2 separate regions of the Homo sapiens genome follow, and region 1 is linked to region 2. Evidence: promoter capture Hi-C in human tissues and cell types (Jung and others, 2019). All regions are on one chromosome and are shown on one strand. The core of a region is centred on a gene start or on the middle of the fragment in contact, and the rest is flanking DNA. Distances in the headings are between cores, read along the strand shown. Region 1 overlaps DOT1L (DOT1 like histone lysine methyltransferase). Region 2 holds the start of OAZ1 (ornithine decarboxylase antizyme 1).

Region 1 (3,381 bases), core at 189-2,688, 63 kb before region 2:
CGGAGTCTCACTCTGTCGCCCAGGCTGGAGTGCAGTGGCGCAGTTTCTGGTCACTGCAAGCTCCGCCTCCCAGGTTCACGCCATTCTCCCGCCTCAGCCTCCCGAGTAGCTGGGACTACAGGCGCCCGCCACCACACCTGGCTAATTTTTTTGTATTTTTAGTAGAGACAGGGTTTCACTGTGTTAGCCAGGATGGTCTCGATCTCCTGACCTCGTGATCTCCCTGCCTCGGCCTCCCAAAGTGCTGGGTTACAGGCATGAGCCACCGCACCTGGCCCACATTTTGACTTTTATGATTACCTTCTTTATATGTGTAAAAACAGAAGGCTCTGTTTCTCTCGGTCCTGCGAAGTTCGGCTCCTGACACCAAGTTCTTCCTGCAGCACACACAAGATGCCCCATAGTGGCTGGTGATAGTGAGACTGACGCTTAGCAGCAGCCTTGCAGGTGCCTGGCTGACTTTTTTGTATTTTTAGTAGAGACGGGGTTTCACTGTGTTGGTCAGACTGAGGCTGAAGGTGTCCATCCGGTCTGTTTGTCTTTGCATTTATCACTGACAGTCAGTTAGAATCCCAGGGTTCAGAGGTATTTGAAATAATTCTTTTCGCATGACTGTTTCCAGTTTGCATCTACAGTTAGATTTTGTTCCTGCTTGTGTACGGCTTGGGGGTTTGCTCTTCCTGCCTCTCAAACCTTAGTTTTTTGTTTTGTTTTTTTTTGAGACAGGGTCTTCATCCTTGGCCCAGGCTGGAGTGCACTGGTGTGATCATAGCTCCCTGCAGCCTTGACCTCCTGGGCTCAAGTGATCCTCCTGCCCCAGCCTCCCGAGTAGCTGGGATCACAGGCATGCACCATCATGCCCAGCTAATTTTTTATTTTAATTTTTTGTAGAGATGGGGTCTCCCTGTGTCCCAGGCTGGGCTGGAACTTCTGGCAGTCTGCCCGCCTTGGCCTCCCATAATGCTGGGTTTACAGGCGTGAGCCTGTGCGCCTGGCAGCGTAGTGGGTTTTTTTTTTCTTTTGAGGCAGAGTCTCTCTCTATCGCCCAGGCTGGAGTGCAGTGGCGCGATCTCGACTCACTTGCAGCTTCCACCTCCCAGGTTCAAGTGATTCTCCTGCCTCAGCCTCCCGAGTAGCTGGGATTACAGATGTGCGCCACCACACCTGGCTAGTTTTTGTATTTTTTTAGTAGAGACACGGTTTTACCCTGTTAGCCAGGCTGGCCTCGGGTGATCCACCTGCCTCAGCCTCCCAAAGTGCTGGGATTACAGGCATGAGCCACTGCACCGCGCCGAGAATGTTTTTTAAAGAAGCATTATTTGTAGGAGGTTGGGCGTGGTGGCTCACTTGAGGCCAGGAGTTCCAGACAAGCCTGGCCAGCAGGGTGAAACCCGCTCTCTACTAAAAATCCAAAAATTAGCCAGGTGTGGTGGTGTGCGCCTGTAATCACAGCTACTCGCAAGGCTGAGGCAGGAGAACCGCTTGAACCAGGGAGGTGGAGGTTGCAGTGAGCCGGGAGACTCTGTCTCAAAAAAAAAAAAAAAAAAAAAAAGTTATTTGTAGAATAGGCTTCAACTTGGAAGGTGTTTCCTAGTGTTGCTTGTAGGCAGGTGGACAGGACCCGGAGCCCAGTGTGTGTGTGTTCCGTGTCATTGTTCCTTCTCTGTCACCTTGAGTGGTGTCTGCTCTTCTGTTTCCTCTCTCCTGTGTGGCAGTAAGCAGTGTCTGTGTTTCAGGTGGCAGAATCGTGTCCTCGAAACCCTTTGCACCTCTGAACTTCAGAATAAACAGTAGAAACTTGAGTGGTAAGAAACTCTCATGTTGTTAATGATGAACACGGGTAATTTTAACCATCTGACACGCAGTATTCCTAGGTCCCTCTTCCTTGACCCTGTGGACACTGGGGCTGGATCCTTCTGTGGGGTGGGGCTGTCCTGGGCAGTGCAGGGTGCTGAGCAGCGTCCCTGGTGTCCACCCACTCCATGCCAGGAGCACCCCTGGTCGCGACAACCACACACGTCCCCATAGAGCACTGTGTGCCATGGGGGTAGAATCACTCCTCGGGGAGACCCCGGCTTCGAGGGGAGGCGTGAAGGATTTACAGGACTTTTGTGGACAGAGACAGGCCCACGGTGGGAAGGAGCCGGCCCCTCCCATGCCCCCTGCCTGCCTTACTGTGCTGCGTGCTCTGTCAGCTCCCAGCCTTGCGGGGCAGCACGGCCTCCTCTGAGGGGCTTCCCTGAGGAGCGCCCACCCGGGAGGTGCCTGTGTTGCTGGATGCTGGCCGTTCTTGCAGCCGTGATCTAAGTCGCTTCCAGATCTTCTCCCCCTCCTTTTCCATTCCACTCAGCTGGGTTTGTGGCTGTTTTTCTGAGGTTGGAGGGGCCCAGGCCAGGTGGTGTTGAATGGTGCACCTCCCTGGGCCGGCCTCTGTGGGCCACTGTGGCCTGACGCAGTGTGGGAGAAGAGGGAAGACGCGCAGCTCAGGCTTCTGTCCCCACGCCTGCCCTGGGGTGGGTGAGGTCTGCATGGAGGGGCTGTGGGCAGGCGCAGGCCCCGGCCTCACCTGTGGCTCCTGCAGACATCGGCACCATCATGCGCGTGGTGGAGCTCTCGCCCCTGAAGGGCTCGGTGTCGTGGACGGGGAAGCCAGTCTCCTACTACCTGCACACTATCGACCGCACCATAGTGAGTATCTCGCTGCGCCTCAGCCGCAGGGCCGTCCTGGTCTTCCACCCCGCCCACGTCACACTGCTCTCTCCTTTCTCATGTGGCCTCTGAGACCCTCCCCTCAGAGCCCTCAACGCCCCCCGGCCCCTGAGCTCAGGCCCAGCTCCTCAAGGCCCCTCAGTACTGCTTGCACCGCAGGACCCACCAGGGTCCTCCCAGGCACTGGGCGTGTCCTGGGTGAGGGCTGAGTGCTGTCTCCCCTAGTCTACGCTCAGCTCCTGGGGTGGGGCGGGGCCATCAGAGTGATGTGTGACCATAAGGGTCCCGGCCGCCATATCCAGAGGCCCCTGTGGATAGGAGTCCCACGTCCCTGTTCCCAGCTTCCTCCATGTGAGAGGGTCCTGAGCGGGGAGACACCAGGGTCCATGGGTGGGGTCTGGGATGCTTCTTCCCTCCCTGTGTTCCCCAGGGTCCTCTGACACAGCCCTGGGCCAGTGTGCGGCCTGCCTGCCTCCCACGGTGCTTCCCCCCCGGGCACGAGTATCCCGAGCCTCCTGGCATGTGGGCAGCGCCAGCCCTCCAGGGCTGGGAGGCTTCCCCTGGTCTCTTTCCCGTCCTTTGGTTGGGCACTCTGTTCCTGTTGTTGGGGTAGCGGTGGTTTTCCTTACGGTGGTGCTGGTGTGTCTGCACCCTCACTGTCCAGTGCTCGGA
Region 2 (3,387 bases), core at 757-3,256:
TTGGCCAGACTGGTCTTGCACTCCTGACCTCGTGATCCACCCGCCTCGGCCTCCCAAAGTGCTGGGATTACAGGCGTGAGCCACCGTGCCCAGCCTCAGGATAAACTCCTAATGGGGCAAACGGTATAAACCAGGAGGCCCCCAGCTCCTGGGATGCTTCTCCTCTCTCCTTCCCCACTCAGGGTGTGGATTGCTTTTTTTTTGTTTTTTTTGTGACAGAGTCTCGCTCTGTCACCAGGCTGGAGTGCAGCGGCGCCATCTCAGCTCACTGCAACCTCTGCCTCAAGGTGTGGATTTCAACGTGCGCAGTCTCCTGGGACCTCAGCAGGGCAGAGGATCATGGGATGCAGAGTCTCTTGGGGGGGTCCGTGGAATCCCCTAACTCGGGAGTCTCACCCAGGGTGATTCTGCCCCCGCCAAGGGACACTGGGTGATGTCTGCGGATACTTGTGGTTGTCACAACTGGGGGTGCTCAAGGCATGGAGTGGGTGGAGGCCAGGGACGCTGCTCAGCGCCCTGCAGTGCCCAGGGCGGCCCCAAATGTCAACCGCAGGAGTTAATTTCTGCCTCAACACCTGAATAGCGAATGCTCGTAGCAGAGATGCAACAACAGCCTTCTGGTGCAGTACGAAATCTCGAAAGACAGGCAGGCGCGGTGGCTCACGCCTGTTAATCCCCAAACTTTGGGAGGTCGAGGCAGGCGGATCACCTGAGGTCAGGAGTTCCAGACCAGCCTTGCCAACATGGTGAAACCCCATCTCTACTAAAAATACAAAAATTAGCCGGGCGTGGTGGCGGGCACCTGTAATCCCAGCTCCTCAGGAGGCTGAAGCAGGAGAATCGCTTGAACCTGGGAGGCGGAGGTTGCAGCGAGCCGAGATTGCGCCACTGCACTCCAGCCTGGGTGACAGCCAGGCCCGGTCGCAAACAAAACAAAATTAAAACCATGAAAGGAATCAGGATTTGCCAGGAGTAGCATTTTTGCTTGGTAAGAACAAAATTTTGTTTATACATGAAATAAAAAATATTTTATTAAACCTCACTGCAAAGTGGCAACTTTTTGCTAAATTCATAATTTAGTCTACACACAAGCTATGTACCCGTATGTGACTGCCAAGAGTTATATCTTTGCTTATTAAAAGCAAAGTGCAGTTCATACCTGAGATTTTTTTTCTGGATTTAACCAGGAGGGGAAATATTTTTGCTAGGTAAGTCCACATTTTACCTCACAGGCGAAACAGTTTACCGAACTTGACCACCAAAGAAATCGTTTTTTCCTTGGGAGATCCACATTTTAGTTCATACATGAGATGTGTTTCTGAATTTTAACTGCCAGGAGTAGTGTTTTTCCTTAGGGTAAGTTTCAGTTTCCACAGGAAAAATCTGAATTTATCTGCAAGGAGTAAAATTTTTGCTTAAGTCCAAATTGTACACGAAATATTTTACTAAATTTGAATATCTTTAACATTGGAAGTTCTTTTTTTTTAAACACTGGAAGCATTTTAAGAACTGCAAGACCAAATTTAAAAAAATAAAACCAGTAATATCATCGATGATTACCAGGTGTTACTGGAAATAATTCTGGCGCGGTTGGACAACCCCCCAAGCACCCGGGGGCCTACCCAGGGGAGGGGTCCCGCTGCGTGAAGGGACCCTAGGGAGGGCGACGTGGACCACGACAGACAAACGGGCACTCGAAGACCCCCGAAAATCGGCCCCAGCGAGCCGCCCCCGCCCCCAAGGCACGATTGTGGGGGCGGGGACGGCTCGGGGCGCGCGCAGCGCGTACCCGGCGCCACGGCAGCCCCGCCCCCAGAAGGACGCGCGCAGGAGGGGGCGTGGCCCGAGGCTCACCAACCAATCTCCAGAGAGCCTCTTCCTTTCCCTTTCCCTTTCACCAATCAGGCGCTGGGAGGGGCGGGCGCGACTTTTTTTCCCGGCGGCCCCGCGGCTCTGCCCCTCGTGCGGTCGCGTTCCCGGCGGCGCGGGGGGCGTGGCCTGGGCGCAGCATCTATAAAGGCGGGCGGCGGCAGAGGCGCCATTTTGCGAACGGCGAGCAGCGGCGGCGGCGCGGAGAGACGCAGCGGAGGTTTTCCTGGTTTCGGACCCCAGCGGCCGGATGGTGAAATCCTCCCTGCAGCGGATCCTCAATAGCCACTGCTTCGCCAGAGAGAAGGAAGGGGATAAACCCAGCGCCACCATCCACGCCAGCCGCACCATGCCGCTCCTAAGCCTGCACAGCCGCGGCGGCAGCAGCAGTGAGAGGTAAGTGCCCCGCCCCCGTCCGAAGCTTCCAGAAGCGCCGGCCGCGCAGGCCTGCGGGGGGCCGTCCTCGGGGCGCCAGATAGGTCCCCGGCGCGCGAGATCCGCCCCTTTGTCAAGGCCAGAATCGCGCCGGGGACGAGGTAGGCGCAGGGCGGGCCTGGAGGTCCCCCCCGGCCTTAGCAGTGCTCTCGGGGGAGTCGGGTTTGGGGGGCAAGGGTGCGGAGTTGGATTTGGGGGGCACCGTCCGGGGCGCCTGATTTGCGGGAGGGGCATGGGTCGGAGGTCGGATTTGGGCGCAGGACGGGGAGTCGGGGGAGGCGTGTGTCTTTTGCGGGGTTCGCGGGATGGGACTCGGCTTCGGAGGAGGGGAGAGGCTTCTGGTCGAGGGTTGGATTTGCGGGGCGCAGACTGGGAATTCGGTTTGGAGGAAGGGTGTGCGGTCGGGTCGGATTTGGGAGGCGCAGGATGGGGCAATCTGGTTGGGGGCGGGGTCGGCCTTGGGGGGCTGGTCCGCGGACAGGCAGGGCCCGCGGGGCTGGTGAATCTGCACTTTTCGGTCCCGGCCGTCGAGCGTGCGCTGCGGGAGCGGGGAGCGCTTTGCGGTGGACGAGCTCCCGCGGGTCCCTGTTGCCTCGATGTGGCCCCTGCACGCGACGGACCTCGTGGGCCCCGTTTTTCGCCCCTGAGCGAGTCGGTCTGGATGGCCCGGGACGCGCCGGGCGAGGCCGCGCACGTAGACGGCACCCAGGGCTTCTCCGCGGGGGCCGCCGGGGAGCTGGGGGTGGCGCACTCCGACAGCCCGGCAGCGCCCTGGGAAGACCCCCGCCGCTTCCCGGGAAGACGCGTCCCGCTTCCGGGGGCGCGGGTGCCAGCTGCGGTTGTGGGGGAGCCCGCGGGGTCTCGGTCGAGCTTTCCCGACTGCGTCCCCCGAGGTGGGCGTCGCTCAGCCCCGGATCGGGAGGTTGGGCCGCGGTGCTGGCGGTGCCGCGGTTTGGGGGCCGTGCAAAATGGAGGCAACTTTGGGGCCTGTTTACCCTGCGCAGCAAATGGCTGCTGGCGCTGCCGGCTGCGCGATTGTGAAAATCTCCCCCGGGGCGCGAGGCCGCGTCTGCCTGGATGACG

The links. The method cuts DNA at HindIII sites, captures the fragments that hold promoters and counts their contacts. A contact is called where the count stands out against the background at its distance.
Region 1: a contact is called between a fragment that was not itself captured here and the fragment with the promoter of OAZ1 in region 2, in 1 of the 25 tissues and cell types used here (adrenal gland).

Annotation. Positions count from the first base shown.
Region 1 is chr19:2,204,993-2,208,373 of GRCh38, forward strand. It overlaps DOT1L (DOT1 like histone lysine methyltransferase), which reads left to right. Exons shown (of 28, transcript NM_032482.3): 10 at 1,737-1,805; 11 at 2,582-2,688. Among named protein-coding and RNA genes, the nearest start is that of DOT1L-AS1, 8.9 kb to the right of the region's middle. The HindIII fragment of the contact is 7,781 bases long and covers 1-3,381 here.
Region 2 is chr19:2,267,480-2,270,866 of GRCh38, forward strand. OAZ1 (ornithine decarboxylase antizyme 1) reads left to right here and starts at 2,007. Exons shown (of 5, transcript NM_004152.3): 1 at 2,007-2,265. The coding sequence starts at 2,120. It overlaps LOC105372240 (a long non-coding RNA gene), which reads right to left and starts at 1,774. Exons shown (of 2, transcript XR_936242.3): 1 at 1,623-1,774; 2 at 1,014-1,393. RefSeq lists silencers at 1,574-2,063, 3,029-3,088, 3,299-3,387 and an enhancer at 1,706-2,320. The HindIII fragment of the contact is 6,913 bases long and covers 1-3,259 here.